Linked DNA regions of Homo sapiens: all the other regions are linked to region 4. The links are contacts of gene promoters, found by promoter capture Hi-C in human tissues and cell types (Jung and others, 2019). All regions are on one chromosome and are shown on one strand. Each heading gives the region's core, a stretch centred on a gene start or on the middle of the fragment in contact. The rest is flanking DNA. Distances are from core to core; before and after follow the strand shown.

The links. The method cuts DNA at HindIII sites, captures the fragments that hold promoters and counts their contacts. A contact is called where the count stands out against the background at its distance.
Region 1: a contact is called between a fragment that was not itself captured here and the fragment with the promoter of KCNV2 in region 4, in 2 of the 25 tissues and cell types used here (aorta and dorsolateral prefrontal cortex).
Region 2: a fragment that was not itself captured here is called in contact with the fragment with the promoter of KCNV2 in region 4 in 1 of the 25 tissues and cell types used here (lymphoblastoid cells).
Region 3: a contact is called between a fragment that was not itself captured here and the fragment with the promoter of KCNV2 in region 4, in 3 of the 25 tissues and cell types used here (H1 embryonic stem cells, heart right ventricle and lymphoblastoid cells).

The regions. Positions count from the first base shown.
Region 1 is chr9:2,269,699-2,274,594 of GRCh38, forward strand. No RefSeq gene overlaps it. Among named protein-coding and RNA genes, the nearest start is that of SMARCA2, 260 kb to the left of the region's middle. The HindIII fragment of the contact is 3,689 bases long and covers 1,609-4,896 here.
Region 2 is chr9:2,444,638-2,449,274 of GRCh38, forward strand. All of the region lies in intron 3 of LOC101930053 (a long non-coding RNA gene), which reads right to left. Among named protein-coding and RNA genes, the nearest start is that of VLDLR, 170 kb to the right of the region's middle. The HindIII fragment of the contact is 8,299 bases long and covers 1-4,637 here.
Region 3 is chr9:2,399,068-2,404,030 of GRCh38, forward strand. All of the region lies in intron 5 of LOC101930053 (a long non-coding RNA gene), which reads right to left. Among named protein-coding and RNA genes, the nearest start is that of VLDLR, 220 kb to the right of the region's middle. The HindIII fragment of the contact is 3,278 bases long and covers 1,956-4,963 here.
Region 4 is chr9:2,714,127-2,718,759 of GRCh38, forward strand. KCNV2 (potassium voltage-gated channel modifier subfamily V member 2) reads left to right here and starts at 3,384. Exons shown (of 2, transcript NM_133497.4): 1 at 3,384-4,633. The coding sequence starts at 3,614. The HindIII fragment of the contact is 9,328 bases long and covers 1-4,633 here.

The DNA.
Region 1 (4,896 bases), core at 2,203-4,702, 440 kb before region 4:
CAAGTGCTATGAAGAAAATAAAGTGGGATAAAGGATTAAAGAGCACACCAGAGACAGAGTAGATACCGAATAAATATTGACGGATTATGTAGGACTTTTGAATTGCCTCAGTGATTTTCTGCAGCCCTCAAAGAGAATTTAACAGGAGGAAAGTGCCATTGTGGCTTGCATAGGTGTGATCATTTTTTAAATGGTGACAAAACCTCAAAAGTGGGCAATAACATTGATGTCTTGTTTCTGCTATTCATCAGCAGGCAAACGTTCTATCTGCAACTGTCAGAACTACATATTTAGCACAGTTCCTCTTACTATTAGCGTCTTCAACATGCTGCTACCTTCCCCACATCTTCCTACCCATTACCCCCTTGTAATTACTGCAATCATTTCAGATTAAGATGTTAAAGTCCAAAATGTTTGTGAAAAAAATTGGCAAGCTGTCACCTCCAAATACCCAGCTGAGTTGCCAAATGAATAATAATGCAAAAATGCTTGCTGGAAAAATAATAAATAAAAGCTTTTTGTTGTATAATAAATCCTTTTCTATAAACCACCCCTGAGGAAACTGGCTCTAGGCTAGTTTCCTAGTAACATTTTCCTCCAAGTAAGCAGGCCATTTTATTTCATTCTTTTCTACACTTTATTTTTTTCCAAGAGCTGCTGTATGGTCCTACCCCATTGTTCTTCATGAAATATGAATGCCACAGGAGTGTATGGGGAGAGATGCCAGCTACATGGCTGTGGATAGGAGCCACTAGTGACTAGAGTAAGTGATTAGTTCAGAAAGTGGCAGCTGAAAAGGAAGTGTGCATTGTGGGAAAACAGAGTTATTTTATTAACCATTAGCCAAAAGAGAAGACTTAAAAAAATAAAAAACCCCGAGAGGCTGGATTTAAGGGCATCCATCTTGCCCATTGCAGAGCAGCTCTGTTCATGAAAAAGGGGAAGAACAACACAAACCACTTGGGCTGGATTTGGATATTCATGGAAGGCTCCATTATGCTTGGGGCAGACCGTGGGCAAAACTGTACCCAAGAGCTCATTGTCACATTTGAGGAATTGGCGAGGCATGACAGATAATTAGGCAATAACTAACACTCTGCATATACTACGTTGTCTATGTATATAGGATTGCCACATATGTTGTCATCTCATTTGATTCATCAAATAATCCTAGGAAACAGGATTATTTTGCCTACCTTAAAGATGACGCCATTGAAGTTTAGAGATGTTAAGTAATTTTTCTAAGGTTACATAGCCAGCAAGTGGCAGAGCTAGAATTCAAATCCAGGTCTCTCTGACTCCCTAGGTGGGGCTTTAGCCACTCTTCGAAGTTTCCTACTCTTCTTTCCCAGACTCAGAGAAGGAGGCAGAATCTGGCAATAGACAATGCACATCCTCCTCCTCCCCAGCTGCCCCACGCTCCTACACGAGGCAAGCATTGTGAGCCATCAAGGCCACTGACACTAGGTGAGGCCAAAGAGGCCTGGGTGAACTGCTCATCACCTATGGGGCATGTTCACCTGCAGCCACAGTACTGGTATGCTCAAAGACACAAAAGGCCCCAAAGATCCAGGAAAGTTTAGCATCGAAGAAAAGTAGATGTTAGAAAAATCCATGGAAAGCCAGGTTAAAAATTCTACTAAGGAGGATCGTTGACGGTTAGTGGAGTGCTAGAGTCAAGTATGGGAAGAAAAGAGGATGGTAGGAACCCGTCCTAAAGAATGTTTAATAATAGTTTATTGGAAAAGTAACTTTGGCATGGGACCAATAATTGAGGTTTAAAAGCATAGTGTACAAAAACAAAACAAAACATAGTGCACATGAGAACGGAGACATGCTGGTAGAAAACAGGAAGTTCAGGCTTCTGAAATGAGACATCAGAACTGGTGAATTGTGTGTAAGTCAGGCTGGCAGCCAAAGAAACAGCCCGGGAAGGTTGTCGGGGGAGGGGGGAGATACTTAAGCTCCACCTTCCTCTCACCTGATTGGGCCTTGAGTGGCTGGGGGTGGGACTAAATTGGCAGATGGGCATCAGCCTGGGTGTGTGGAAACCAACCCGAATATGATTTGAGGCAGATTCTCTCCCTCCTTCTTTCCCCCAGGTAGGCTATGTGCTCTAGTTTCCAGAGCCTCCACCTCTGTGCCATGCCCAAATCTTTCCTTCTACTGTGAGTCCTAAAAACTCCCCAGGTCTAATGCTAGTAGAAATCCTACTTCTTCACTGCAAGAATTTTTTTTTTTTTTTTTTTTTTTTTTTTTTTTTTTTTTTTTTTTTTTTTGAGACGGAGTCTCCCTCTGTCACCCAGGCTGGAGTGCGGTGGCGCGATCTCGGCTCCCTGCAAGCTCCGCCTCCCGGGTTCACGCCATTCTCCTGCCTCAGCCTCCTGAGTAGCTGGGACTACAGGCGCCCGCCACCACGCCCGGCTAATTTTTTTTTTTGTATATTTAATAGAGACGGGGTTTCACCGTGTTAGCCAGGATGGTCTCGATCTCCTGACCTTGTGATCCACCCGCCTCGGCCTCCCCAGGTGCTGGGATTACAGGCGTGAGCCACCGCGCCCGGCCTGCAAGAACTTCTCTCTACGTTAGCAAGAAACAAACACTTGAGAACTAAGTTACACTGCTGGAGGAACGATGAACGTCTCCTTACTGCCAATTACGTTAACCTTCCCAATGACTTGTTTTCACTTTTTAAATAGAAGCTTGTTAAATTAAAAGAATGCTTTGCTAATAGTGGGATTATAGGAGAGAAGTTTTTTTGAGATTGTGGTGATGGGGCAGGAGCTGTGATGTAGATGGGGTCCCTTAAAACTATTTGTTCTTCTTGTTCAGATTTTGATTCAGCTCATGTCTGTCAAGCCTTTAATAAGCACCAAGTCCCAAGCTACTTGTCATCCTCCCCACCATGATCAAGGTCTAGAGGATAGAGGTGGTTTCTTGAAAGTGAGAAAATGTTTATTTCATATTGTTTTCAACAAGACTAAATTGGAAAAAAAACCCTCAACATCCTTTTAGTGATTTCTACAGTGCTGGGAATTACTGGCTTTTTAAGTCCTTGTTCTCTACTGTAGAAGCTGCCTACTCATTCCAATTGCCTGATGTTTGCTAATTAAGCATCGTTAAAGGAAGAAATTAACTCATTTGTTAAATGCCACCTAAGTTTCTCTGTATATTCAGAAAAAGCATTAAACCCAATCCTGAGATGGTAATTTCAACCTAATTCAAACTCTTGCTTGCTTTAGGGATCAAAATAGTTATGCTGCAGGTTTACTAATATCAACAGTGGCACTGACGACAATAACGAATGATGACCCTGACAATGATCATGATGCTGAACGCTGTTTGTTACTTTTTAAATCCTTTGTTTCAAAAACTACCAAAAATTCTCCACATTTTTAGAAATCTTGTATTGAAGCATCGTCATTAGTATAATTTCTGATCAAGTAAATCCATTGCTGAGATGTTTATGCAGTATTCTCTGTGCAGAAAATAATACATGAATATAGGTAAGAATCTGATACAGATATTCAGGATGAGACACTTTTTAATTGAGAAAAATAATTGGACAGATTTTCATTCATTGCACATCTGTTTTCAAATCTATTTACTGTATTTGTCATCTCCCTTTCTCCTTTCATCTCCTTCTTCTCTCCATTGTCCTGCTTTTTTTTCTTTGGTTCTCCTCTCATCTTTCACTCTCCTTTTCAGCAAACAAATCAGGGAAAGAAACAGCTTCCTAGATAATGAATGGTATTTTAAATCTGGTTTGTTTTCAGGGACTCTAGTCCTGACTTAATGTATCAAACGAAGCTCCAGGATTTAATCAAGAAAGGAGGCCATCAGGAAAAAGAAAATCAACTCTGAAGCTTAGCTGAAAATAATTTGCATTTTGGGAGCTGTGCGTTAGGGATGTTTGGTCCAAGCTCTTTCATGGGGAGATAAAATGAAAATGATGTGCTTTATTACTTTGAAAGTCATACCCTTCTAATAACAGGGAGAATAGGAAGCTTTTCTGATTTATTCTGCTGAACCATCACTATCTGGAGTCATTTGCACTCATGGACCATTGGGAGAACATTAATTGACCAAAAAGAGGCTGCTGTTATTGTCGAGGCAGCATTGTGTATCCTTCTGAAATGGCTGATCCTGACCTGGGCTCTTGACTTTGCCCCCTCAGACTCTAGCTTTTATGGGACTGGATGGATCTACTGCCAGAGGTCAAGTAGTGCCAGACTGAAAAGCTTTATCAATTCCAGAACCTCACCGAGTACCTCCTACTAGGAAATTTGAATGTGAACACCTTGGTAACATCTCAACCACGCACTTGGGAGCTTTTGCCTATAATTCAAAGCAAACCGAAAAAGAAATTATTCCCACCATGTTGCAAAAATTGAAATGGAAAAAGAACTGTTGATTCTAATTCCTCAACCCAGGACTTCAGATGCCAATAATGATTGCAAAGAATAAACACCCACTGAGTGCATCTCAGAAACCGAATTGTTTTCTTGTTATTTAACATTTACAGTAGTAAGAGTGTGTTGGCACTGCTGGGCTCCTGTCAAGAGCCATTCCTGAAGTCCTCAGTGTTCCCACAGTGATGGCTGCACGTGTGAAAGGTTAGGAATCCAGGAATACTAACATGGAAAGTAAATTGTTCCTCCCGTTTCTTTTCTGTGCTGCCCTAGAAAGATCTTACACCTCTTGTCCTTTAAGGTAATAGCACTAGTTCCCATTCTTTTGGGTTCCATGTATATTAGGGCATCCACATCTACTGTTAAAAAAAAAGGAAGAAGGATTTTGAGGAAGAGCTTAAAGGAAAGGGGGTATTCAAAGAAGAAAATGCTTCAGGGCAATTGGGGGTTTCCTTCAGAGCAAAAGGGAGATTAGAGGAGAGGT
Region 2 (4,637 bases), core at 88-2,587, 270 kb before region 4:
CGCATTCAAAGCACTAAATGCCAACAAGAGAAAGCAGGAAAGATCTAAAATTGAAACCCTAACATCACAATTAAAAAAACCAGAGAAGCAAGAGCAAGCACATTCAAAAACTAGCAGAAAGCAAGAAATAACTAAGATCAGAGCAGAACTGAAGGAAATAGAGACAAAAAAACCCTTCAAAAATTCAATGAATCTAGGAGCTGGTTTTTTGAAAAGATCAACAAAATTGATAGACTGCTAGCAAGACTAATAAAGAAGAAAAGAGAAGAATCAAATAGACGCAATAAAAAATGATAAAGGGGATATCACCACCGATCCCACAGAAATACAAACTACCATCAGAGAATACTATAAACACCTCTATGCAAGTAAACTAGAAAATCTAGAAGAAATAGATAAATTCCTCGACACATACACCCTCCCAAGACTAAACCAGCAAGAAGTTGAATCTCTGAATAGAGCAATAACAGGCTCTGAAATTGAGGCAATAATTAGTAGCTTACCAACCAAAAAAAGTCCAGGACCAGATGGATTCACAGCCAAATTCTACCAGAGGTACAAGGAGGAGCTGGTACCATTCCTTCTGAAACTATTCCAATCAATAGAAAAAGAAGGAATCCTCCCTAACTCATTTTATGAGGCCAGCATCATCCTGATACCAAAGCCTGGCAGAGACACAACAAAAAAAGAGAATTTTAGACCAATATCCCTGATGTGTTCATCAGGGATATTGTTGTTTCGATGCAAAAATCTTCAATAAAATACTGGCAAACCGAATCCAGCAGCACATCAAAAAGCTTATCCACCATGATCAAGTGGGCTTCATCCCTGGGCTGCAAGGCTGGTTCAACATATGCAAATCAATAAAAATAATCCAGCATATAAACAGAACCAACGACAAAAACCATATGATTATCTCAATAGATGCAGAAAAGGCCTTTGACAAAATTCAACAACGCTTCATGCTAAAAACTCTCAATAAATTAGGTATTGATGGTACGTATCTCAAAATAATAAGAGGTATCTATGACAAACCCACAGCCAATATCATACTGAATGGGCAAAAACTGGAAGCATTCCCTTTGAAAATGGGCACAAGACAGGGATGCCCTCTCTCACCACTCCTATTCAACATAGTGTTGGAAGTTCTGGCCAGGGCAATCAGGCAGGAGAAGGAAATAAAGGGTATTTTTTTTTCAATTAGGAAAAGAGGAAGTCAAATTGTCCCTGTTTGCAGATGACATGATTGTATATCTAGAAAACCCCATTGTCTCAGCCCAAAATCTCCTTGAGCTGATAGGCAACTTCAGCAAAGTCTCAGGATATAAAATCAATGTGCAAAAATCACAAGCATTCTTATACACCAATAACAGACACACAGAGAGCCAAATCATGAGTGAACTCCCATTCGCAATTGCTTCAAAGAGAATAAAATACCCAGGAATCCAACTTACAGGGGATGTGAAGGACCTCTTCAAGGAGAACTACAAACCACTGCTCAATGAAATAAAAGAGGATACAAACAAATGGAAGAACATTCCATGCTCATGGGTAGGAAGAATCAATATCGTGAAAATGGCCATACTGCCCAAGGTAATTTGTAGATTCGATGCCATCCCCATCAAGCTACCAATGACTTTCTTCACAGAATTGGAAAAAACTACTTTAAAGTTCATATGGAACCAAAAAAGAGCCTGCATGGCCAAGTCAATCCTAAGCCAAAAGAATAAAGCTGGAAGCATTGCGCTACCTGACTTCAAACTATACTACAAGGCTACAGTAACCAAAACAGCATGGTACTGGTACCAAAACAGAGATATAGACCAATGGAACAGAACAGAGCCCTCAGAAATAATGCTGCTTATCTACAACCATCTGATCTTTGACAAACCTGACAAAAACAAGAAATGGGGATACAATTCCCTATTTAATAAATGGTGCTGGGAATACTGGCTAGCCATATGTAGAAAGCTGAAACTGGATCCCTTCCTTATACAAAAATTAATTCAAGATGGATTAAATACTTAAATGCTAGACCTGAAACCATAAAAGCCCTAGAAGAAAATCTAGGCAATACCATTCAGGACACAGGCATGGGCAAGAACTTCATGTCTAAAACACCAAAAGCAATGGCAACAAAAGCCAAAATTGACAAATGGGATCTAATTAAACTAAAGAGCTTCTGCACAGCAAAAGAAACTACCATCAGAGTGAATAGGCAACCTACCACGAATGGGAGAAAATATTTGCAATCTACTCATCTGACAAAGGGCTAATATCCAGAATCCACAATGAGCTCAAATAAATTTACAAGAAAAAATCAAACAACCCCATCAAAAAGTGGGCAAAGTATATGAACAGACACTTCTCAAAAGAAGACATTTATGCAGCCAAAAGACACATGAAAAAATGCTCATCATCACTGGCCATCAGAGAAATGCAAATCAAAACCACAATGAGATACCATCTCACACCAGTTAGAAAGGCTATCATTAAAAAGTCAGGAAACAACAGGTGCTGGAGAGGATGTGGAGAAATAGGAACACTTTTACACTGTTGGTGGGACTGTAAACTAGTTCAACCATTGTGGAAGTCAGTGTGGCGCTTCCTTAGGGATCTAGAACTAGAAATACCATTTGACCCAGCCATCCCATTACTGGGTATATACCGAAAGGATTATAAATCATACTGCTATAAAGACACATGCACACGTATGTTTACTGTGGCACTATTCACAATAGCAAAGACTTAGAACTAAGCCAAATGTCCAACAATGATAGACTGGATTAAGAAAATGTGGCACATGTACACCATGGAATACTATGCAGCCATAACAAATGATGAGTTCATGTCCTTTATAGGGACATGGATGAAGCTGGAAACCATCATTCTCAGCAAACTATCGCAAGGGCAAAAAACCAAACACCGCATGTTCTCACTCATAGGTGGGAATTGAACAATGAGAACACATGGACACAAGAAGGGGAACATCACACACCAGGGCCTGTTGTGGGGTGGGGGGAGGGGGGAGGGATAGCATTAGGAGATATACCTAATGTTAAATGACGAGTTAATGGGTGCAGGACACCAACGTGGCACATGTATACATATGTAACTAACCTGCACGTTGTGCACATGTACCCTAAAACTTAAAGTATAATAAAAAAAAAAGAAAGCAAGCATATATTTTGGGGGGGTTGTAATATTAACCAGCTAATTTGCTATTTCTTGTTCATCTTTTCCTATAGTTTTCAGTGAGCATATGGTGTCCTTTCCTTGCTATAATACAGCTTTGTCCACCTACCTCCTTTCTGCTGTTATGATCAAGTATATTATATTTCTACATGTTATAGGTCTGCAATATAATTACACACATATTGCTTTATACCATATTTTTTTAAGTAAGTTAAGAGAAAGGAGAAGAAATATGCATTTATGCTATCTTTCATAATTACATAATCACCTCTCTTAGTGCTTGGTTTCTTTATGTAGATTTAAATTACTGTGGTCACTTGCTTTCAGCCTGAAGAACTTCCTTTGCTATTTCTTGTAAGGCCATTTCTGTATTGTAGCAGCTTTAGATAGTGATTTTCCTCCGTTTCCTGTGCTTGTTCATGTTACTTGCTTATTTATTTAGTAACTTGGGTAGGGTATTTTATTAAGTCCATTTCCCATGCAGTGTGAAGCCTCTGATGTCATTCTTATGAGGGTTCAGTCTTGGGCATGGGCATAGTCACCCTGGGATGACCGGTTTTGGCAGGCTCTCTTTGTCTCTATTTCTTATCTGTCTCCTAAACTGTATGTCTCTGTAGCACCACATCCAGCTGTTAAGTTTCATTAATTGCTGGCTGATGACTCCATTTTTTAAAAATAATGTGCTGGTGCATAAATTGCTTCACACTCTGATCCAATTAAATTTGGGTGTCTTGGCAGGGCCAGGCTTTGAGGGTTTCTCTGACCACAGAAGGACTCATCTTAGAGTTATCTCTTCACCTGCTTTGTCTGGTAATACAGCTGGCTTATAGTTTTGCTTGTTGCTCTCATGGAGCTACCAGCCTCTCCTTAATTGCTTATTACCAAAATCTCCATGGTCCTTGAGAGTTCCTTTAGGATTGAACTTACCCGCACTTTGTTCCAAATAAATTCAATTTCTTCGGGGGAAGTTTCTGCATCTTATGTTATTTTGACTTGCCTCTTCATCTGGCAAAATCTCTGAACCACTGCTCTGGAGATGACAGCAGGCAAAATCACCCACTTCTCTTGGAATACCATGTTTCATGAACTGAGCACTGAGCTGGGGCAGTAGCCTCTGGTCTTCTCAGCTTGCCTCTTCCAGTATGGAATATTCTCCTTATGAAAAGATTGGGGTTAAGATAATTTGGCCCAAGTTTTATTACCCTTCTGTACCTAGAGTAGAACCAGTGAAATTGGAGCTGGGTAGGTGAATGAAGTTCCTGATGTCTTGGCCACACTTGCCTGGAAACTAGCCTTCGTAACATGCAGCTAGGAGAGGATAAAAAATGTTGGCAATCTCTTTATCCCAGGAGAATACCTTACCACTTGACTGGTAGCTTAGAGGAAAGGGAGCCCCTTTGGAGTGGGGCGTCTATCATGCTGAGCTTTAGGGGTAAGGGTAA
Region 3 (4,963 bases), core at 2,345-4,844, 310 kb before region 4:
TGTTCCATTGGTCTATATATCTGTTTTGGTACCAGTACCATGCTGTTTTGGTTACTGTAGCCTTGTAGTATAGTTTCAAGTCAGGTAGCGTGATGCCTCCAGCTTTGTTCTTTTGGCTTAGGATTGCCTTGGCTATACGGGCTCTTTTTTGGTTCCATATGAAATTTAAAGTAGATTTTTCTAATTGTGTGAAGAAAGTCAATGGTAGCTGGATAGGAATAGCATTCAATCTATAAATTACTTTGGTCAGAACGTACATTTTTACAGTATTGATTCTTCCTATCCATCATCATGGAATGTTTTTCCATTTGTTTTGGTCCTCTCTTAATTCCTTGAGCAGTGGTTTGTAGTTCTCCTTCACATCCCTTGTAAGTTGTATTCCTAAGTATTTTATTCCCTTTGTAGCAATTGTGAATGGGAGTTTGCTCATGATTTGGCTCTGTGTCTATTATTGGTGTGTAGGAATGCTTGTGATTTTTGCACATTGATTTTGTATCCTGAGACTTTGCCGAAGTTGCTTCTCAGCTTAAGGAGATTTTGGGCTGAAACGATGGGGTTTTCTAAATATACAATGATGTCATCTGCAAACAGAGACAATTTGGCTTCCTCTGTTCCTATTTGAATACCTTTATTTCTTTCTCTTGCCTGATTGCCCTGGCCAGAACTTCCAATACTATGTTGAGTAGGAGTGGTGAGAGAGGGCATCCTTGCCTTATGCCGATTTTCAAAGGGAATGCTTCCAGCTTTTGCCCATTCAGTATGATATTGGCTGTGGGTTTGTCATAAATAGCTCTTATTATTTTGAGGTATATTCCATCAATACCTAGTTTATTGAGTGTTTATAGCATGAAAGAGTATTAAATTTTATCAAAAACTTTTTCTGCATCTACTGAGATAATCGTGGTTTTGGTCACTGGTTCTGTTTATGTGATAGATTACATTTATTGATTTGCGTATGTTGTACCAGCCTTATATCCCATGGATGAAGCAGACTTGATCGTGGTGGATAAGCTTTTTAATGTACTGCTGGATTCAGTTTGCCAGTATTTTACTGAGGATTTTCGCATCAATGTTCATCAGGGATATTGGCCTGAAATTTTGTTGTTGTTGTTGTGTCTCTGCCAGGTTTTGGTATCAGGATGATGCTGGCCTCATAAACTGAATTAGAGAGGATTCCCTCTTTTTCTATTGTTTGGAATAGTTTCAGAAGAAATGGTACCATCTCCTCTCTGTACCTCTGGTAAAATTCGGCTGTGAATCCATCTGGTCCCGGGCTTTTTTTTGGTTGGTAGGCTACTAACTACTGCCTCAATTTCAGAACTTGTTATTGGTCTATTCAGGGATTCAACTTCTTCCTGGTTTAGTCTTGGGAGGGTGTATGTGTCCAGGAATTTATCCATTTCTTCTAGATTTTCTAGTTTATTTGCATAGAGGTGTTTATAGTATTCTCTGATAGTAGTTTGTATTTCTGTAGGATCAGTGGTGATATCCCCTTTATCATTTTTTATTGTGTCTATTTGATTCTTCTCTCTTTTCTTCTTTATTATTCTGGCTGTTGGTCTATACACTTTGTTATTGTTTTCAAAAAACCAGCTGCTGGATTCATTGATTTTTAAAAGGGATTTCCGTGTCTGTGTCTCCTTCAGTTCTGCTCTGATATTAGTTATTTCTTGTCTTCTGCTAGCTTTTGAATTGTTTGCTCTTGCTTCTCTAGCTCTTTTAATTGTGATGTTAGGGTGTCGATTTTAGATCTTTTCTGCTTTCTCTTGTGGGCATTTAGTGCTATAAATTTCCCTCTAAACACTGCTTATCTGTGTTCCAGAGATGCTGGTACATTGTGCCTTTGTTCTCATTGGTTTCAAAAAACTTATTTGTTTCTGCCTTAAATATGTTATTTACCCAGTAGTCATTCAGGAGCAGGTTGTTCAGTTTCTATGTAGTTGTGCGGTTTTGAGTGAGTTTCTTAATCCTGAGTTCTAATTTGATTGCACTGTGGTGTGAGAGACTGTTTGTTATGATTTTCATTCTTTTTCATTTGCTGAGGAGTGTTTTATTTCCAATTATGTGGTCAATTTTAGAATAAGTGTGATGTGGTGCTGAGAAGAATGTATATTCTGTTGATTTGCGGTGGAGAGTTCTATAGATGTCTATTAGGTCCACTTGGTCCAGAGCTGAGTTGAAGTCCTGAATATCCTTGTTAATTTTCTCTCTCATTGATCTGTCTAATATTGACAGTGAGGTGTTAAAGTTTCCCACTAAGATTGTGTGGGAGTCTAAGTCTCTTTGCAGGTCTCTAAGAACTTGCTTTATGAATCTGGGTGCTCCTGTATTGGGTGCATATATATTTAGGATAGTTACCTCTTCTTGTTACATTGATCCCTTTACCATTATATAATGCCCTTCTTCGTCTTTTTTGATTTTTGTTGATTTAAAGTCTGTTTATCAGAGACTAGGATTGCAACCCCTGCTTTTTCTTCTTTCCATTTGCTTGGTAAATCTTCCTCCATCCCTTTATTTTGAGCCTATGTGTGTCTTTGCACGTGAGCTGGTTCTCCTGAATACAGCAAACCGATGGGTCTTGACTCTTTATCAAATTTGCCAGTGTGTCCCTTTTAATGGGGGCATTTAGCCCACTTACATTTAACATTAATATTGTTATACATGAATTTGATCCTGTCATTATGATGCTAGCTGGTTATTTTGCCCATTAGTTGATGCAATTTCTTCATAGTGTCGACGGTCTTTACATTTTGGTTTGTTTTTGCAGTGGCTGGTACTGGTTGTTCCTTTCTATATTTAGTACTTCCTTTAAAAGCTCTTGTAAGGCAGGCCTAGTGGTGACAAAATCTCTCAGCATTTGCTCGTCCATAAAGAATTTTATTTCCCATCACTTATGAAGCTTAGTTTGGCTGGATATCAAATTCTGGGTTGAACATTCTTTTCTTTAAGAATGTTGAATATTGGCCCCCACTTTCTTCTGGCTTGAGGGTTTCTGCAGAGAGATCCACTGTTAGTCTGATGGGCTTCCCTTTGTGGGTAACCCAACCTTTCTCTCTGGCTGTCCTTAACATTTTCTCCTTTATTTCAACCTTTGTGAATCTGTTAATTATGTCTTGGGGTTGCTTTTCCTGAATTTGAATGTTGGTCTGTCTTGCTAGGTTTGGGAAGTTCTCCTGCATAAAATCCTGAAGTGTGTTTTCCAACTTGTTTCTATTCTCCTTGTCACTTTCAGGTACACCAATCAATTGTAGGTTTGGTCTTTTCACATAGTCCTATATTTCTTGGAGGCTTTGTTCATTTCTTTTCATTCTTTTTTCTCTAATCTTGTCTTCATACTTTAAGTTGATCTTCAGTCTCTGGTATCTTCAATCGATCTACTGTTTGATCGATTTGGCTATTGATACTTGTGTATGCTTCATGAAGTTTTCGTGCTGTGTTTTTCAGTTCCATCAGGTCACTTATGTCCTTTTCTAAACTGGTTATTCTAGTTAGCAATTCCTCTAACCTTTTATCAGGATTGTTAGCTTACTTGCATTGGGTTACAACATGCTCCTTTAGCTTGAAGGAGTTTGTTATTACCCACATTCTGGAGCCTATTTCTGTCAATTCATCAAACTCATTCTCTGTCTAGTTTTGTTCCCTTGCTGGCAAAGAGTTGTGATCCTTTGGAGAAGAAGAGGCATTATGGTTTTTGGCATTTTCAGGCTTTTTGCACTGTTTTCTCCTCATCTTTGTGGATTTATCTACCTTTGGTTTTTGCTCTTGGTGACCTTTGGATGGAGTTTTTGCATGGTCATCCTTTTTGTTGATGTTGATGCTATTGCTTTCTATTGTTAGTTTTTCTCCTAGCAGTCAGGCCCCTCTTTGCAGGTCTGCTGGAGTTTTCTGGGGGTCCACTCCAGAACCTGTTTGCCTGGGTATCACCAGAAGAGGCTGCAGAATAGCAAAGATTGCTGCCTGTTCCTTCCTCTGGAAGCTTCGTCCCAGAGGTCACCCGCCAGATACCAGCTGGAGCGCTCCTGTATGAGGTGTCTGTTGACCTCTGCTGGGAGGTGTCTCCCCATCAGGAGGCATGGGGGTCAGGGACCCACTTGAGGAGGCAGTCTGTCCCTTAGCAGAGTTCAAGCACTGTGCTGGGAGAACCGCTGCTGTCTTCAGAGCTGGCAGGCAGGAATGTTTAAGTCTGCTGAAGCTCTACCCACAGCCATCCCTTCCTCCAGGTGCTCTGTCCCAGGGAGATGGGAGTTTTATCTATAAGCCCCTGACTGGGGCTGCTCCCTTTCTTTCAGAGATGCCCTGCCTAGAGAGGAGGAATCTGGAGAGCATTTTTTTTTTTTTTTGATGGAGTCTCACTCTGTCACCCACACTGGGGTGCAGTGGTGCAATCTCAGCTCACTGCAACCTCCACCTCCCAGGTCCAAGCAATTTTCCCACCTCAGCCTCCCAAGTAGCTGGGATTACAGGCACCTGCCATCATGCCTGGTTAATTTTTATATTTTCATAGAAATGGAATTTCACCATGTTGGCCAGGCTGGTCTTAAACCCCTGACCTCAGGTGATCTGCCTCCCTCAGCCTCCCAAACTGCTGGGATTATAGGCGTGAACCACTGTCCCCAGCTGAGAAGTGATCTTGAGATCTTGCCTAATCTCAGAGCTTAGCACATGGCTTTGCTCATCTACAGATTCCAAACAGCAGTATTACCTAGTGAGAGAAGACAATCTGTAACTCTGCTCAGAGGCAATCACAAAACTTAGCTAATAGCTCTGCCTAACTACAGAGTCCAGCCAGTGATCTCATCAAACTCTAGAGCACAGCCAGCATTTCCATTTGACCTCAAAGCGGTCAGCAGTACAGCCCAGCTAGAGAATCTGACAGCAAGGCCTGCCTGCCAGGACTTGCCACCAGCTGGGCCATCCAGAATCCCAGGCTAGACTAAACAGTGAAGGTTTATTGCTACTGAAG
Region 4 (4,633 bases), core at 2,134-4,633:
AGCAAACCACCATGGCACATGTATACCCATGTAACAATCCTACACGTTCTGCACTTGTATCCTGGAACTTAAGGTAAAATTAAATTAAAAAAAAGAAAGAGGGTGTTTTCCACATTATGGGTCAACCATTGTTGGACAGTTTTATTAGAAACAGTCTATATATGTGTATACTCATCTAATGTTGCACTTACATGCATATACATCAGGGCAAAATCCAAGCAACTACTCATACCGGGGGTGTAAGAGTCACTTAAGTGGGGTCTACCCAGGTAATATTCCTCAATCTACTGTATGGATGTGGTGTTTGTGCTTAGCTTCTAGATGCCATACAAACATTACTAACTCCATAGTTTTTAAGTGTTGAAAGTCTGGATAAGTGGTAGTACATGGGTTGGGCATGGTGGCTTACACCTGTAATCCCAGCATTTTGGGAGACCAAGGTGGGTGGATCACCTGAGATCAGGAGTTCGGGACCAGCCTGGCCAACATGACAAAACCCCATCTCTACTAAAATTACAAAAATTAGCCAGGCATGCTGGCGGGCGCCTGTAATCCCAGCTAGTCAGGAGGCTGAAGCAGAAGAATTGCTTGAACCCAGGAGGCGGAGATTGCAGTGAGCCGAGATCACGCCACTGCACTCCAGCCTGGGCAACACAGTGAGACTCTGTCTCAAAAAAAAAAAAAAAAAGTAGTATATTATTTCAATTGAAAAAGAAGAAGATAAAAATATGAAAATGGTGATATTTTTACTTTTTTTTTTTTTGTCGAGACCAAGTCTCACTCTGTCACCCAGGCTGGAGTATAGCAGCATGATCTCAGCTCACTGCAACTTCTGTCTCCCGGGTTCAAACAATTCTTGTGTGTCAGCCTCCTGAGTAACTGGGATTACAGGCACCCGCCAACATGCCCAGCCCGGCTAATTTTTGTATTTTTAGTAGAGATGGGGTTTCACCAAGTTGGCCAGGCTGGTCTCAAACTCCTTACCTCGAGTGATCCACCTACCTCGGCCTCCCAAAGTGCTAGGATTACAGGCGTGAGCCACCACACCCAGTCTTTACTTTTTATAATAGTATAATTGGTTCTGAAGAGAAAAGGTGAATTTATGCAACATGCAAAATCTATTATGGCAGTACTCAGCACAATATAAAGAAAAGATAGACTTGGAAAGCAATTAAGTGTGTGGCTAGCAAAACAACATCAATATTGTATACCAAAAAGGGAACGCTAGAAATACATTTAGGAACTTAAAGGCTAAGCCTGGTAAGAAGCTTTACCATAAGCTTGTAGGTCTGAGGCCTATTGCAAGCTAAACAACATCAGTGAATGCCACACTAGCAGATGCAGACCTCATAACGTTACCCGTCTCAACAACTTTGAAGCATAGTTAAAACTCAACTAAGTGACAAAGATAGTACCACAAATCAGTGAGGAAATGATGGATTATGCAATTAATGTGTTGAAACATCTGGATAAAAGCTTGGAAAATAAAGTTAGGCCCCTACTTCACTCTTTACATCAAAATTAATTTCTGATGTTAAAACTATAAAAAGAAAAGTTTTATTTACAGAGAGGTGAAGCCTTTTCTAATACTACACAACACCCAGAAATCATAAAATAAAGATTTTTACATGGAAAAAATATTAAAGTTAAAACCGAAAAAAGGTGCAATCCATATCACAAGTAAAGGGTCTTTTTTCATAATGTATTAAGCTCTCCTACAAATCAATAAGAAAAATGTAAACAACTCAGTGGAAAATATAGGCAAAGTCGATGAACAGACAGTTCCCAGAAAAAGAAATAGCTTTTAATCACATGAAAAAGTGTTCAATCACATTTATAAGAAATACAAATTAACCCACACATCATTTTTCACTTACAAAATTGGTAGAGTTAAAAAAGTATAAGACATTTTCAACCGTTGATGAATTGTAAATTGGTAAAACTTTTATGGAGAGAAATGTAGCACTACTAATCAAAATTACAAATGTGCAATCTTTGACCTAGTAATCTCACCTCTAAGAATTTATCCTTTATATATCTTGAACATGTGTAAAGTGATGTACATATAAGGTATTTGTTGCATAATTGTCCATAAAAGCAAAGGTAGAAACATTCTGAATGTCTGTCATTAGGAAAGTGCTCAGTGGCTATTTTTAAAATAAGGTAGATATTTGTGTTCAAATATGAAAACATCTTTTATATGGCCAACTGGAAAAGGCAAAGTATATAGCATTCTATGATTTCTATTAATAATGAAGAGGTACTGAGATGATGGATAAAGGTAGGTATATTTTTGCTTGTATATGTTTAGAATATTTCTGGAAGGATAGCCAAAAGGTAGTAATAGTGGTTGCTTCCTTGAGGTACACCTGATGTCTTGAAATTATGGGTGGGAAAGACATAAACTTTCTACTGTAATATGTCTTTTTACCTTTACAATTTTTTATCATGAATGTGTATTAGCTATGCAAAATAAATTGAATAGAAAAACCAATTCCCTGCTCAAAGCAAATCCCTCCTGCTTCTCTCCTCCCCAGTATTTATTGCATCTTTTGTTATCCTTGCATGTTTATATCCCCAACAAAACCAAGAGTTCTTTGACTGCTACAACTGTGTCTCCATCGTGTTTGCATATCCAGCATTTGCACATTGCCTTAATCATGAAAAGGGTTTTTTTTTTTTTTTTAAAGTGATGTTTTGAAGGATGAAGAAGACCCTTTTTTTTTGGGTGGAAGTCAGGCTCCCTTTAAATATGGCCTAATATTGCTGAGCAGGGTTGTGAGGCCCTAAAAACGTCTTCCTACCATTCCTGGAATTCTACCTTGAAACATGTCTCTATCCTTTAAGAGAAAGGGAGGAGATAAAAAGGAGAGAGAGAAGCTGAAGCTGACTCAAAGATCCGACTGGACCTGAACAGTGCCCCAGGGAGAATCCATTTGAAAAAAAAAAAAAAATGTGATCATGTGAATGGACAAGAAGGAGATGGCTTTAGATCTTATATGCTCTAAACGAAGAGTTACGCTGAGAGGGAAACTGACTTGTCATGAAGTCAGCTTTGTTCCGTTGCTATGTGTCATCCCTGCTAATGGTGAGTTTACCTAGGGCAGAGGCTACCATCTCAACCATGAAGCTGAAGACACAGGCATCCGTATTCTATAGCTAATTCAGTTGATTTCATCTCAGCACACATACACTGAGCGCTTCCTAAGAGCGAGGTTGACCGACATTTTTATTAGCAATAATCTCTGCCTTCTTCTGATTACCTAGAGATTTAAGACCACATAATCATCCTCTACCTCACAGGGTCAAGGGAGTGGGGGAGGAAATGGGCTAAGAGGTTCTAAATCCCTCCTAACACTTGCTTCTTCCAAATCAGCAAGATTAGAGCAGTCAACAGCTGACTGCGTTCAGACCCTGCAGGCTGGGCTGGCCTGCCCAGGACCTGAGAAGGGGCAGCTCCGGTGGCAATGTCTGAGCCCCTAGCTGTGCTGGTCCGGGCTGGCCTCTCTAAGACAGTGCAGGCCACGTGATCCATCCTCCTAGAGGCAGTGAGCAGGTGAGGGACCCCTACCACAGCCAGGAGGAAAAAGCTAGGCGTCCACTTTCCGCAGCCATGCTCAAACAGAGTGAGAGGAGACGGTCCTGGAGCTACAGGCCCTGGAACACGACGGAGAATGAGGGCAGCCAACACCGCAGGAGCATTTGCTCCCTGGGTGCCCGTTCCGGCTCCCAGGCCAGCATCCACGGCTGGACAGAGGGCAACTATAACTACTACATCGAGGAAGACGAAGACGGCGAGGAGGAGGACCAGTGGAAGGACGACCTGGCAGAAGAGGACCAGCAGGCAGGGGAGGTCACCACCGCCAAGCCCGAGGGCCCCAGCGACCCTCCGGCCCTGCTGTCCACGCTGAATGTGAACGTGGGTGGCCACAGCTACCAGCTGGACTACTGCGAGCTGGCCGGCTTCCCCAAGACGCGCCTAGGTCGCCTGGCCACCTCCACCAGCCGCAGCCGCCAGCTAAGCCTGTGCGACGACTACGAGGAGCAGACAGACGAATACTTCTTCGACCGCGACCCGGCCGTCTTCCAGCTGGTCTACAATTTCTACCTGTCCGGGGTGCTGCTGGTGCTCGACGGGCTGTGTCCGCGCCGCTTCCTGGAGGAGCTGGGCTACTGGGGCGTGCGGCTCAAGTACACGCCACGCTGCTGCCGCATCTGCTTCGAGGAGCGGCGCGACGAGCTGAGCGAACGGCTCAAGATCCAGCACGAGCTGCGCGCGCAGGCGCAGGTCGAGGAGGCGGAGGAACTCTTCCGCGACATGCGCTTCTACGGCCCGCAGCGGCGCCGCCTCTGGAACCTCATGGAGAAGCCATTCTCCTCGGTGGCCGCCAAGGCCATCGGGGTGGCCTCCAGCACCTTCGTGCTCGTCTCCGTGGTGGCGCTGGCGCTCAACACCGTGGAGGAGATGCAGCAGCACTCGGGGCAGGGCGAGGGCGGCCCAGACCTGCGGCCCATCCTGGAGCACGTGGAGATGCTGTGCATGGGCTTCTTCACGCTCGAGTACCTGCTGCGCCTAGCCTCCACGCCCGACCTGAGGCGCTTCGCGCGCAGCGCCCTCAACCTGGTGGACCTG